Regions from separate parts of the Homo sapiens genome. Here regions 2 and 3 are each linked to region 1. Evidence: promoter capture Hi-C in 16 types of primary human blood cells and fetal thymus (Javierre and others, 2016). All regions are on one chromosome and are shown on one strand. The core of a region is centred on a gene start or on the middle of the fragment in contact, and the rest is flanking DNA. Distances in the headings are between cores, read along the strand shown. Region 1 holds the start of SCARF2 (scavenger receptor class F member 2). Region 2 holds the start of LINC00896 (long intergenic non-protein coding RNA 896). Region 3 overlaps RTN4R (reticulon 4 receptor).

The links. The method cuts DNA at HindIII sites, captures the fragments that hold promoters and counts their contacts. A CHiCAGO score of 5 or more calls a contact.
Region 2: a contact is called between the fragment with the promoter of LINC00896 here and the fragment with the promoter of SCARF2 in region 1, in 2 of 17 cell types (M1 macrophages and erythroblasts). The highest score is 6.3, in M1 macrophages.
Region 3: a fragment that was not itself captured here is called in contact with the fragment with the promoter of SCARF2 in region 1 in 1 of 17 cell types (erythroblasts); the score reaches 5.9 in erythroblasts.

The regions. Positions count from the first base shown.
Region 1 is chr22:20,435,522-20,440,171 of GRCh38, forward strand. SCARF2 (scavenger receptor class F member 2) reads right to left here and starts at 2,304. Exons shown (of 11, transcript NM_182895.5): 1 at 2,061-2,304. The coding sequence starts at 2,233. It overlaps LOC107985588 (a long non-coding RNA gene), which reads left to right and starts at 2,475. Exons shown (of 2, transcript XR_001755623.2): 1 at 2,475-2,990. The HindIII fragment of the contact is 6,009 bases long and covers 1-4,650 here.
Region 2 is chr22:20,204,314-20,208,963 of GRCh38, forward strand. It overlaps LINC00896 (long intergenic non-protein coding RNA 896), which reads left to right and starts at 2,019. Exons shown (of 1, transcript NR_026919.1): 1 at 2,019-4,224. It overlaps LOC105372862 (a long non-coding RNA gene), which reads right to left. Exons shown (of 3, transcript XR_938009.3): 2 at 3,660-3,750; 3 at 1,705-1,932. LINC02891 (long intergenic non-protein coding RNA 2891) reads right to left here and starts at 605. Exons shown (of 4, transcript NR_038460.2): 1 at 340-605; 2 at 20-186. RefSeq lists enhancers at 2,136-2,375, 3,584-4,114. The HindIII fragment of the contact is 30,249 bases long and covers 1-4,650 here.
Region 3 is chr22:20,241,967-20,246,616 of GRCh38, forward strand. RTN4R (reticulon 4 receptor) reads right to left here. Exons shown (of 2, transcript NM_023004.6): 2 at 1-1,144. Among named protein-coding and RNA genes, the nearest start is that of MIR1286, 4.9 kb to the right of the region's middle. RefSeq lists enhancers at 741-1,333, 1,749-1,798. The HindIII fragment of the contact is 2,676 bases long and covers 2,053-4,650 here.

The DNA of each region.
Region 1 (4,650 bases), core at 1,054-3,553:
CGGTGGCCTGCCCACCCTCACTCTCTGGCAGCTCCTCCGCCAGCCCCTCCTGGACTCTGCCCAGCCTCCTGGATCCTTCCTGTACTTCCACAGGCCCTCTGCCTTGGGAACCTTGCCCCAGACACCCACAGGGCCTCCGTGCTCTTCTGCAGGCCTGTGCTCACTCACCACCTTCTCAGCCGTTCTCCTCAGAACACCCTAAAGGAAACAGCACTCCCCAACCCAACACCTCCCAGCTCTTGCTAGATGTCTAGACACACTTGCTTTTCTGGACTGTGTCTCCTCTGCCACAGGGTCAGGGTCTCCACTGCAGCTTCCCTACACCAATACAGGCCTGGCACAGTGTAGGTGCATAGGATTTTACTGGCTTTGCACTCTCCTCTCCCCATCCTCCTGCCTCCCAGGAAAGGGAAGGGCTGATGGAAGCCTTGCAAGATGTGGGAGGACAACAAAGACATGACCCAGACCCCAGGTGGGCAGTGCCCAGAGTGGCTGTCCTTCCCATCGACCCTTGCCACTCATGACCACAGCGATCTCCACTTAGCCCCATGAGGGGGTTGTGATCACTATCCCATTTTACAGAGGTGGAGACAGGCCCAGAGAGGTCAAATGACTTGCCCAGGTCCACACAGCTGGGTAGGGTGGCACCAGGATGGGAACCCAAACCCAGGCTCGGTTCCTGGAGCAGGCGCCTCCTGGGAGGTCTGCAGACCAGGGGAGCGGGAGCAAAGGGCTCTCAGGCTCCGGACAGCTAGAGCCTGGCACCGGACCCCCATTCCTGGTCCCGGGCCTGTCTGGGAAAGAGGGCTGGAGTGAGTAGACAGAGACCACGGCGATCGCGCCCTCCCCCTCTCCAGGCACCGCCCCGCCCGCCGCCGCCGCTGCATTCCTGGGGCCGGGGAGGCCCGGGAGTCCGCGGCGGCGGCATCGATGCGAAGCAGATGGCGGGCCAGGCCGGCCCCCGCCCCGGAGGCGGGGCTCGCAGCGGGGAGGGGTCTGCGCGCCTCCGGACCAGAGTTCGGAAACCCCGCGCTGCCCCCTCGCAGCCCCTTGTCTCTGGCGCCGAGCCCCTGGACTCGGCTTGCCCCGGGTCCGTGGCTCAGGCGCCCCGACGCGACCCAGCTCGGAGCCCGGCGGCCGCCTCTGCGGCTGCCAGCCCGTGCGGCGTCTCCAATCCGCGCCAAGGCGCCCCCACACGCCCGCTCCTCACCCCTGCGTGGAGATGCCCTTGACCTTGTGGCCTTTGGCCAGCCCACCGGCTCCCCCGACCCCAGCTCCTAACTCCTGGCGTCCGGGGCTCACCTCTCTGCCCTCCGTGCAAACTCCCGGACTCGCCCCCCCACCGGCCGGGCCTGTCGCCTGCCTGTCCCACACTGGCTTCCCCAGCCGGCGCCCCACATTTGCGCGGCCCCTTCTTGCACCCAGAATCCCCACCTGGTTGTCGCCAGGGTTCCCACATCCTCCGGTCCCCTGTGCCTGTCATAGTCCTTCCGCCTCCCGCTTCTGGTCCACTTCGAGCGCCGGCTCCTCGACGCTCGCCTGGGTCACCACCCTCCCACCCGCGCCCGCTCTAAGACGCGAATCTGTCTTTCCAAGTCTGGCTTGCTCCAGGACCTCCCCGGCTAGCACCGCTCCTCCTCCCCTGACCTTCCTCCTCACTCCCACTCCCGGCTCCAGTCGGACTAGTGCGGGGCTTTAGCACATGCAGTTCCTTTGGCTTGAATGCCCTTCCCCAGCTTTTCCCCGTGGACTTCACAACTCGGTCAAGGGTCCCTTTTTCCAGGTCTTTCCTGATATCCCGGACAACGCGTGTCATCCCCTGGGTGCCCACGGCACTCCATCCTCCCCTCAGGTGACTTCTCGTCCAGGGTTCCCTGGGATGCACTGTCGTGGCCCATGGCCGAGGCTGGGCCTGGAACGGAGCCGCGCTGGCTAGGGAGCCGAAGGGGCCCACACTTGGCGTAGGAAGGTTCCGGTAGCCCCCTCCCAATGCCCGGCGCCGCCACACCACTGCCCAGAGCGTCCCTCTCGCCCCCTCCCCCAGCCAGGCCGGCTCCTACCCGGGAGCACGGCACACGTTGCGGCCGCGAGGGTTCAGTTCCTGAGGCGCCACGGTGTCCGGCAGCATCCAGAGCAGCAGCAGCAGCAGCAGCGACGGCAGCAGCGGTGACGGCGGCCCCCCGGCTCCCCGGCGCCGCGCCGGCCCGGCCCCCCGGGGCCCTGCGCCCTCCATGAGGCGCGGGGCAGGCGCGGGGCGGGCACGGGCGCGGGTGCGGCCGCAGCGAGAGCGGCCGGAAGCGGAGTGCGAGGCCGGGCGGGGGGCGGCAGGAGGGGCGCCGAGCCGGGCAGGAAATTCCACATCGGCTCCCTGATCCCGGGCCAGCCGCGGCCGGCCAGGCGGCAGCGCCCGCCCCGCGCTCCAGACCCCACCCTCCGGCCTAGCCACCGCCCCTCCGCGCAGCCCCCGCCCCCATTTGGCCGCTCGCAAACTTGGGGGCGAACTTGGAGGAGGCCCGCCGAGCGCTGGTGGAGGGAGGGTCCGCCCGAGGAATCCCCGGTTCCCGCGCCTTTCCCTCCGCTCCCTAGACATCTACCGAAGCAGCCGCCCCTGCGCGCCCACTGCGTAGGCCAGGCCCGGGACGGGAAGGCGGATCGGGGACACGGACGCGACTCCGCAAGCCCACCCCCGCTCCCAGCGCCTCGGAACCGGCCAAGGGAGTGGGGCCCGCAGACAGCCCAGGTCGAGGCCGAAAGCCAACTCCACAGCACCCCACCGCGAAGTCCTTGTAGTGCTGGGGTGTGCGGTCAGCTCCCCCTGCGCACTCCTGCGCACTCAGAGCTCGCAAGGGGCGGACCGAGCAGGATGCTTGAGGCCTGTGGTAGACTCGGTCCGGACCAGAGGCCTGGGGGAAGGGGTCTCCGTAGGGACGGATGGGAGAGATACAGAGGAAGTAGAATGGCCAGGCTGTGGACTGCGGTAGGAAGTAGAGGTAAAGACAGAAGGAGACCCCCGGGATGGAAACCCTGCAGTCCTAGTTGAGGAGTGAAGGGGGCTGGGGGAGCCTGGGCGGTGGATTCTGCTGGCTGTCGGATTTCCAGGAGAGGCTGGGGCTAGAGAGTGGGAACTCCTGCATCAGGTAAGGTGGGTAACAGCACAGAGCAGAAGGAAGGTGTGGGAAGGGAGCAAGACAGAGGGACAGGCCCTAGGGAGCCAGCGGGGAAGCTGGACTTGGACTGGGAGGCAGCAGGGTGCGGGTCCCCGGGGGGCAACTGGGGCAGACCGACTCTGGAAGTTGGGCAGGGAGCACAAATGTCCCGTGTGTAGCCAGGTCCTAGTGAGGATGTTTGTCTTTTGGGGACTTGAGAGCTGGCAGAAGGCCTAAGCAGGGAGCGGGCACCTCCGTTCTTTGGGGAGCAGGCCACATGCGGCCCACAGGCTCACTGAGGGAGGGCAGGCAGACTCTGTCCAGGTGTGGCCAGATAGCCCCGAAGGGTGGGGCTGGAGGAGGGGGCTTGGAGGAGGAGCCACTGAAAGGCCCAAGGCCATGGGCATCACCAGGCTGGCACAGGCAGAGAGTGGGATGGGGAGGAGCAGGCCCCTCACTCAGCCATGCTGGTGCAGGAGGGAGGTGGGGTGGGCTGAAAGAGAAGTGGAACTAGTGTGGACACGAATGCAACTACCTGGGGACAAATAAACAGGCCAACCACTTCTGGGCAGCTCAGCCTGGGCACAGCCCTGACCTCAGCAATGCCCTCCCAGTGCTGGGGCCCCTCCCACGGAGGATCCGGATTGCGGCTCCCAATAGAGGCCAGCAGAGGTCCCAGTGGCTGCAAGGTCTGTCCCAGCCCAGCTCCTGGCTTTAGAGGCACTGACCCCCTGGGCTGGAGGGGACACTCACCTCAGCTGGATGGAGGTCATGAATAGGCATATCAAATTCCATCACCTTTCTCCTTCCCCCAGACCTGTCCAGGGAGGGCACCACCTGGATGGTGCCCCCCAATCCCCCAGGACCTCCTAAATGTCTTAGATCTCTGCCCACCCCTGTCTGCCACCCAGAGTAGTCTTTTTAATCTCACATGTGGCTATCCACCACTGCTCTCAGGATGAGGACCATCCCCAGTCTCACCTCACGACCCGGTACATACATCCCTTGCAGTAGATGGCAACTTTGGGTGTCATGGGCAGAGCCCTCATTTCTCCCAACCACCACTGCACCCCTAGGGGAAGACTGAGAAGTATGGGAGGAATGAAGGATCATCCACATGGCACTAGGATGTAGAAGGAACCCACAGACAATTGACCACCACGCAGGCAAACTGCTGGAGCCCGGAGCCCTGGCCTGCTGGTTTTGGCCAGGATGGCTGCCAGAAGGAAGTGGACTTTGAAGGCTGAGGAGGGTTTTGCATGAAAGCAGGGACCAAGAGCCTAGCCACACTGGAGAGCACAAGTTGGGCTGCCTCAGCTCCGGGGTATCAGGTGTAACCCTTAGAAACCCAGCTTAGCCCCAAGGCTGACAGTGGCAGGGCCAGGCTGCGCCCAACTCCAAGGCACTCTCCACCCCTCCCCAGGCTGTGCAGGACCTCAGTGAGCCCTTCCTGCCCCTGCAGACCAGAGGCCTCCTGCAAACCTGTGGCTGTGGCTGGTGGCTC
Region 2 (4,650 bases), core at 769-3,268, 230 kb before region 1:
ATTGGGGTGGGGGGCTGACCTGGACCCTCCAAGACATCAGATTGTCCAACTGCTCAGTTTTCATTGGGGCAAGTGCCTCGCTGAGGGTGAAGGGGGCTGTGAGTGCCCATCAGGGAGCCTGGACAGGTCCCGCCTCTCACAGCTGTCCCACTCTCTGGAGCTGCCTTGGTGGCAGATGGCACTGTCCTAGAAAGGTGAGGCTGGAGCTGTCTCTTCCACCAGGGGTGGCCAAGGACGCTTCCAGGGTCTTCCATGCAGGCCTCCAGGGTCACCCTGGGCGTGGCTGAGGGCATGCAGACCACGCTGTGCTCCCCCCCACCCCCCATGCCCGTCGCTTGCCTGACATGCTCCTCAGCTGTCTTGCCCCGCAGAAGCTGTGTGGTCTCCCCTGTGAGTAGAGTCGGGCTCCATGATCCTCCGGAGCAGCGCCAGGGACTCTCCCCAGGCACAATTTTAAAGGGGGCCCTAGGACCTGCCAGGTCCACGGAAGTGGTCCTTGTAACTCTCTCCCTGGTGGCAGCCTCTGGTGCATTCCGGCAGGGGCAGCCCCTCCTCATCACAGGGACCCTGTGTGCCAGGCCCCAGCTGCGTTGCCGCTGAATTATGGATTTAATAGCAGAGAAGCCTTGCAGGCCGCCTGTGCTGGCTCGGGAAACCGGGGCCCAGCCGGGGCCTGTCACGGTCCTGGTGCCGCCCTGCTTCCTGTCGGCGCCACGGAGCAAGCGGAGAGATTTATCTTCCCGGCTTTAAGAGGTACTAACGGAGGAGGCTGAGAGGCAGGAGCTGAATAATTGATGGCCTTCTCTGGCTCAGGATCTGCTGAAAATGACACGGTGCAAGGCAGAGGGGCTGAGAGTGCTGACCACAAAATGCTGAGAAGCCACTCCAGGGCGGTCACGGCCAGAAGGAGGACCCCCACTCAGGACGGGGTCACAGGCATTTGGGGCGGGTGTCAGAGGCTCCTGCCCTGGGTCATTCCAGGGGGCCAGGATACCCAGAAGCTGGGCCTAGAGGCCCACAGGGCTGGCTCACCCCCACTTCCCTCTCACACGCCTGCCATCACCGGTGCTTCAGCCCAGCAACCCCATGGCTCGTTGGCCCCGTCCACAGCCCCCACTGCCTCCTGTGTGCTGGGCGTGGGCCTCTGAGCTCTACTCTCAGCCTCCTTAGCCCCAGGAGAGGAGTGGAGGACAGGGGTTTAACGTGGGGTGTGGTGCGGAGCGGGGAGGGCTGTGGCGCCCCCTCAGCCCCTCCTTTCCTAACAGCCTCAGCCTCCCCCCTGGAGAATCCCCTACCTGCTGGGCACATCTGGCCTCTCCCCACCATTCTGTCTCCAGCCGGGAGATCTCTACCCAGTGAAACAGTGAAACAGGAAGGGTTCCCTGGTTACCCCGCGCAGGGCGCAGGGCATGCAGCGGGGGAGTGGCTCGCTTCTTCAGTGCCCCACCGCTCACACCTCTAGGGGAGCATACAGACGGGCAGGCTGTGGGGCTCTGACCCCATGGCAGTGTCTGGGGGTGAATGTTTACAGCTCTTGAAACCCCAGTGGGAGTGCGTTACCGGGTGGTCTTTTAGTCTAGCGGTCTGTAGGTGGCTGGTGAGAGTGAGCTCAATTAGACCCCTGCCTTATAACAAGGACAGAGGAATTTCTGTATCCCAGGGTTTCTTGCCTTGGTGTACCAAAAAATTGGATCACACGTGGGCTTGGAGAATGAGTGCAAGGTTTTATTGAGTGGAAGTAGCTCTCAGCAGATGGGGGAGCCAGAGGGGAGATGGTTTTCCCCTGGAGTCAGGCAACATTCTCGGGATGTCCAGCAGCTTGTCTTCTTCCACCAGTGTGTTCCTCTCCCCACACAGAGGCTTCTGTCTCTGCCTTGCTAGGGTCTTGGGTTTTTATAGGCATAGGATGGAGGCATGGCAGGCCAGGGTGGTCTTGGGAAATGCAACATTTGGGCAGGAAATGCCTGTCCTCACCTAGGTTCGTGGGGGTGGAGCCCTAGGCAGGGACCACGCCCTTCTCTACGGAGCACTTCCCGTCCCTCCTCTGTATCATTTAAAGGGACCACGCTTTTCCCTTCTCAGCACTTCCTTTCCGTATCAACAGGAGGCCAGGGACTGGCTGGACCCCTAGGAGCCAGGTCCTACGGATAGGTGAGCCGGCCCCCCAGGGCAAACACCTCCACTGGGCAGACCTGACTGCCCAGAGCTGGATTCTTTACTTGTAAAAGGGGCCATGAGTGACACAGGCTCGGCCTGCTGTGCCTTGAGGAAAGGAGAGGCTAAAAATTCTGCCTTCTCTCCTAAAGCCAGCCGGGCTCTTTATGGTGGGGGAAGGAAGGATTTGTTTATTTGCACTCTTCTGAAATAAAAGTTCTCTATCCTCCCTCCTGGCTGGAGTTGGGAGGGCCCCATGGGTGGGCTCTGAGATGTGGCACACGGTACCCAGGGCAGGGCTGGGAAGGGTGGGGTGCAGGGGCCTCCCTGGCTGCAGGGCCCACCCACCAGGTGCCTGGGCTTGCTGCACTGAGCAGGCATGGGCTCTGGCCCCCCTCACTGTCCCTTCCAGGCCCAGCCTGTGTTCAGGGCCCAGGACAGGGTCTGGCCAGCAGGCCCCAGGCCTCCAAGATGTTCTCAGCCTCTGGAGTGTGTGTGATGATGAGCACTCATGGAGCTTCCTGTATGCTGGGCCCTGGGCTTCTGAGAGGGCCACCGGGTGGCGACTGAGTCACGAGGTGGAGGGCCAGTCCCAGGGACTCCAGGTGACCTCGTGTCGGCACCACGCCCTTCTCCCATGGGCAGTCCTGGGCGCCCCTTCCTGGCCTTGGGCCCAGTGGCCTGTGGCCTGACCCCGTCCACTCCTGCTTGGTTGTCCCAGCAGCAGCAGGAGCCCATGCTGGAGAAGGTGTTATGGGGCAGGTGGAGGGCCCGGCTGACTCAGATGATCCCCCAAGTTTCTTTTCAATGAACACTTGTTTAGTGCAGTTTTTCCTCCTCAAATCCCCCTCACACAGGCAGACACCCTCTTGGCCCAGGGTAATCTGCTGAGCCTTTGCTCAAATATAGCAGCTTTGCTGCTTTCTAAACACAACTAATCCAATTTGGGATTTGGGGATTCGAGGTGGGCAGCACTGGGCCTCAGATGAGCCCCCATCACCCCAGACCCATGCAGGAAGAGCCAGGCAGGGTGGGGCCCTGGGGCCACCTGGTGGGCTCAGGGCCAGGGCATCGCGATGTCCCCATCCTTCACACTACGGGGCTTCCTGGCTGCAGAGTTGGGGACTCAGCTGGGAATGCTGGCCATAGAGGCAGAGAGCCCCCATCCTGCTGGGCCAGCCCTGACCTGGCTTCTCCAGGGTGGCCCAGTGTCCCCTTCTGCCCTTCCCCTGGCTCCCACCGTCCACATCCCTCTATCTGCCCACCCTGGACAACAACCAGCACAGTGCAGTGTGGCCCTGCAGTGACACCACCTGCAGAGAGGTCAGGCCCAGCCTCCCCCGTCTCCTAAAAGGCCAGCAGGTCCCAGGAGCTGGGGGTGGGGCCTGGCTGTGGGGCCTCCATGCCCCAGGGGCCAGGGCAGACCCTCCTTAGCCGGCAACCACTGCAGATTCCTCCCCTGGCCAGCACTCGGGGACCTCCCTGCCCCTGCCCCGTCCCCCTACCTTGCCTGCTGAGACATAGGGCTCCACGGGTCTCTCTCCTGGGGCCGGGCTGACTGTGGCCTGCGAGGGGCAGTCATCGTGTTGGGTTTTCCTGCCAGAGGCAGAAACCACAAAATTACCTGGAACATACACGCCCCAAGTGACAGATTCAATTCAATTCCACAAATATTGACCTCGCGTCTAATCCACTCGTCCTCCAGTGCCAGCTCATTCCTGAGAAGCCCAGCCTGGCAGCCGCAGATCCCATTTAATCCCAGCCCCACAATGTCACCAGCTCGCAGCTTGGGAGCTGGGCTCATCCAGGCCCTGGCAGGTGGGGCCAGAGCTGGGCTCTGACCTCTGTACCCACACTTACCACCATGTAAAGTGCTGGGAAGAGGGGTGGGGAGTCACGGCAAGTTGAGGGTCCAGGCTTGCCCCAGCTCGCCAGATGCTCGCCCTGGCTGCCCTGACCTAGCAGCTAATCTCTGCGGGGCACTGCGGCTACATGGTGACTCCAGCACGGGGACATTTATCAGAAATGGAACTGATGGATTAAAGTGGAACCAAGCGAATTGATTTTTCTCCCTGGGCACTGAAATGCTGCGCTTAATCAAGCGATCAACTCCGTGGGCAGGGTGGCTGTGGGGACGGAGGTGGGGGACAAGGGGATGGTGGCCATGGTGGGGACTGAAAGGTGGCTATGGGGACAGATGAGGTGAGCCAGGTGGCCCTGGGGTCGAGCTCCAGCCCAGCCTCTGGCAAAGAGGCCCTGTGTGCAGAAGTCCGGGTGTGATGCCCTCCCCCCACCGATTGTGTGATACCGGCCAGTCCTGTCCCGGCTGAGCCTCGGTGGCCTTGATGTAACCCTGTGGGGTCTGGTGGCAGGGACTGATTCACTCATTTGCTCATTCATTCATGTGTTTGACACACACTGCAGCAAAGGAAAGGTGAGAGCAGCCACAGGCTGGCCAGGGACGATTCAGACTTCAGAGTGTAGCGTGCCCGCCCC
Region 3 (4,650 bases), core at 2,141-4,640, 190 kb before region 1:
CCAGGCAGAGTCCCAAAGGGTGAGTCATTGATGTGCCGTGGGCCAGAGCCGTTGCCCGGCGGGCTGTCACCGGGCGGCACGCGTCCCTTCAGCGCATTGCCTGCCGAAGCTGGTCTTCCAGGCTCCAGTACTGAGGCCTTGTCAGCGGCATCTGGCTGGCAGCACTTGGGAAGCCCCAGCGGCTCCTCATCGGTGGCCCTGCCGGTCCAGATGGGATGGTAAGGGCCGGTGGCCACAGCGCAGCCCTGCAGGTCATTGGCAGCTAGGCGTTTGAGGTCACGGCCAGCCAGGCGTTGCGGGAGGCTGCAGGGCACCTCGGAGGAGGAGCCGCGGAACTTCTGCAGCCAGGCCCAGAGTGGGCGTGCCCGGCAGTCACACACCCAGGGGTTGTCGTTGAGCCTCAGGTACTGCAGGGCACGCAGGGGGGCCAGGGCCTCAGTGGGCAGCGCTGATAGATTGTTGGCAAACAGATAGAGTGTCATGAGGCGGCCAAGGTCACGGAAGGCATGCGGGTGCACATGGGCCACGCGGTTCTGGTGCAGTAGGAGACGGTCGAGGCTGTGCAGCCCACGGAAGGCGCGCTCGGGCACGCTGGAGATGCGGTTGCCGTGCAGGAAGAGGTGTGTGAGGTTGCCCAGGTCGCGGAAGGTGTCATCAGGCAGTGCCTGCAGCGCGTTGTCCTGCAGGTAGAGGTACTGCAGGGCAGCCAGGCCGCGGAACAGCCCCGGGCCCAGCTCCTGCAGGCCGCAGCGGTCCAGGTGCAGCGTGTGTAGGCGGCCCAGGCCGTGGAATGTGGCAGGGTCCACAGACCGGAGCTGTGCATTATCGCTGAGGTCCAGCTGCTCCAGGAGGGCCAGGCCAGTGAAGGCAGCCGCATCAATTCGGGCCAGCACATTCGAGTGCAGCCACAGGATGGTGAGGTTGCGGCAGGCACGGAAGCTGGCAGCTGGCACATGCGAGATGCGGTTGCCGTGCAGGAAGATGCGCTGGCTGGCAGCAGGGATGCCCACGGGCACAGCCTGCAGGCCCTGCTGGGGGCAGCTTGTCGTCACCTTGGGCTCATTGTAGCATACGCAGGCACCTGGGCATGGGGCTGCCACCTGCCAGGCCTGCAGCCACAGCACCCATGCCAGCAGCCGGCTCCCTGTGGGCAGAAGACAGAGTGGTTAGCAGGAAGGGCAGGGGTACTGGAGAAGCTGGAGGTTTTGCTAGAGCCAGGTGGGCCCCGGAGATTGGGTCTCAGGAGGACCTGGGGCTGGGTCCAAGATGTGGCCACCACCCCCGGGAATCGCAGTGTTGGGATCCCTGCTTCACAGGCCTCATGGACGATGCTGGGCTAGAACATGCCTTGGAGCCATGCACTCCACCCTGGAAGCCACATCTGCAGACTCCCCATACCACACCCAGGAGCAGCCCACTGGGTCACCAGGGGCACTCACTTGAAGGCCTCCTGGAATGGACACTGGTGACTGCAGGTACCTCCTCAGGACTCCAGTGAACACAGAGCCCGCATTGCAGGAGTCCCCGGGGGGTCCCAGTGGGGGTTCCACCCACAGGGCCTAGGAAACACTGCAATGGGGCTGGGGTCCCTCTGGGCACGTCTATCTCAAAAACGGGCGCCTGGATGCCCGAGGGCGGGGGTGGAGGGCAAGTGTGTCCAGGGCTTAGGAGGAGTCGCGTCCCACAACCACCCAGGCAGCCTGCTCCCTCCTCCACACATCCTCCTTTCAAGCACTTCCTGACTTGGCAGGAACCCTCCTGAAGCCTCCGCCCCCTGGCCTCATTCTCTGCTCCATCTCCTCCCTGGGAGGAGTTCACTCCTCCCCAGCCAACCCCTGCAGTGCCAGCTGCCTGCACCCCTCCCACCCAGACGCCATCAGCAGGGATAGCCTCCCAGTGGGTTCTCCCCCAGCCCCAGGTGCCTGCAACCCCTCCTCCATTACAGGGCCAGATACACCTGGGGCTTCACCAAGGCCCTACATGGGCAGTAGTCCCTCCCGGGGTGCCGCATCCAGAGCTGGTCTCACCAGCGGGGTCACCCACTCCGGAGTAAGCTTTCCTGCCTCTCATTCCACCATTGAGCCCCCACCCCTTTGGAATGCTGAAGATTCTTTCTGCCTTCAGCAGTGAGTCTATTAAAATGTGAATCCCCCTGGGAAGGTTATGGCTTATCAGCTAACACTTGAGTTATCAGCTAACACCTGCGTTGACAGCTAACACCTTCCACGGCAGCTGGCTAAGAGCAGGATTCTGCAGACATGAGGCCGGCTAAGTGCTGGGGTTGGAGCCGGGCAGGAGGAAGGAGTGGACCACAGGCCAGCTTCCCCAACCTAGAACTGTGACCCTGGGGCCCTCCTACCCACATGGGGCCCCTGCCCCACTGGGTCCTCTCTACTTGGGCAGACAGTGCAGTCGCCCTAAACGCAGAGCCCAGCAAGCCCAGCACGCGCAGTGACCGCTGGGCATGTGCGTCCTCCCAGACTCAGGTTCATAGGTCCTCAGACCCCCTCCCCACAGCCTGGGGGCCTCCTCTGCCAAACCCCCTGCCCCAGGGCCATTTGTTGGCTACCAGGGAGATGGCAGCCCAGGGATGGGGGTCCGGAGGCCCCTCCCTGGGTGGGCTGGGTGAGGAAAGCACCTGGCCTCGTGTTCTGTTTAAACTGCGGACACCCTCTCTGCTCTCTTTCTACACACTCTTCCTAGGAAGGTGGGGCCTGACCATGTCAGCTCCCCACTGCTGTCTCACCTGCTGTCACCAGAGGGAAAACTGTGCTATGTAAATGGCACTTCCTGTCCTGGGGCCAGGTGGGGTGGAGGCCCCACATGCTCATGGGGCAGGGTCAGGACTCACTGCCACATTATCGACCACACCACACCACTGACTGTGGGGGTCACCAACTGAGCCTTGTCACCAACCATACCATGCGGCTGACTGCACCCACCAAGACTAGCCACCCATGGTGGCCACGCCCGCCACATTACCACTGAGCCATGCCACCATCCCACCACTGTCCTGTGGCTCCAGGCCCGAAGCTGTGGGCTGTGAGTCTGGCTGTGGTCAGGGCTCAGCTCACTCGCCTTGAACCGAGCCCTGTGCTCATGGATCTCCCTCCCGAAGCAGCTGTGTGTCCACTCTAAACATGCCCCCAGTGAGGTGCCAGAACTGAGCCACACGGTGGTGCGGGGTCGGGGGAGACAGGGGAGGACATGGGGGAGTGGCCACGTGGCGCTCAGTTCTGCCAGGAAGTGGGTATTGGGCGCAAAGACACGGCTCGGTTCCTGCCGAGACAACTGCTTTTCGTAAACCAACTTCTGAGAGTCGGGTGAGGTGGGCTCTCTCCTCGCTGCAGCCATGGTAATTGGCTCCAGCCTGGCCCCCCTTGGGGCCTGCCCGCTGGTCTCCATGGCAACCCCTCTGCTGAGCGAGCAGGAGGGGGCATCTTTTTATGAGATAATCAAACCCAACTTTGCAGCATGGGTTTGTCTTCACAGCCGGGGCCCTGGGATGAGGGAGACGCAGCCAGGTGGGGGGAGGGTGTCCTCTGACCCCATCCCAGGGGCCAGACTGGTGACTCACCAGCCTCCTCCCTGGCCCCATGGTGGACTGCAGCCCCTCCCCACCCCAAAAGACCTCCCTGGCCCGTGGCCCCTGACCTGTCCCCTGGGCTCTGCAGCCTCAAGGCCACAAGGCCTCTCTGGCCCTCTCGCCCACCTTTCTCTCTCCTCTATCTGCCTGGCCAACTCTAATAGGATGCTCTACTGTCCTTCTGGAGATAGCATGGCCTCCCTGCCTGCCATCACCCCACTTTCCACTCTCACCCAGTCTCACCCTGGCCCCAGTTCTCACGGAGCCTCCAGTATGAGCTCTGTCCTTCCTGCCCCTTGCACACGGGGTGAGCAACCAGCCCTGCCATGGCCCCAGCTCTCACAGAGAAACCATGGATAGCGTGCCTGTCCACCGTCCCCACCCAGGTTGGCCCTGCGGCCACCTGAGCCTGCGAGGGCCCCAGAGGGCTCTCCTCAGCCTCCAAGCTGCACACAAACTGGTACATCTGTGCCTCTCCCACCCTCCCAGGCCAATTAACATCTCTTCTTTCCTCCAGGGTCTCCTCCTGGGACCTCCCCGGAGGATGGCCCTGCTGGCTGTCAGGGCTGGGTCATAGCTAGGAGCTCCTGTCTCAGCCCAGGCCTGGCTCAGGAGCCACAGTCAGGGGAGGGCTGGCTCTCCTGCCTGGAAGGCTCTGAGCTTTCCCAGCGGGGACAGTGACCGGATACTGACCCAGAGCCTCTCCCTGCGGCAGCCAGACTGGGCAGGGTAGGACCCAGGATCACCAGGCTGAAGGCCCAGGAGGCTGGGCAGCAAACAGTCCAGGACGCATCCCCCTGACGGGAGCAACAGGCAGCCCAGGTGGGCACCTGCACCATCAGTTCTGGTGAGTGGAGGGCTGTTCACGTTCACTGCAGGAGGGAGTGTGGCGGGGGGAGGAGGAGGTGGGAGGAGAGCGAGGAGGGCAGGAGCAGAGGGGAGGGGTGGAGAAGGGGGATGGGGAGGTGGCGGTGGGAGGCTCTGGGGATATGCCCAGCCATTGGGCAGGCAGGCGGCTGCTGAGGTCAGCAGCTCACCCCAGCAGCCCAGGGAGCTGAGCCGAG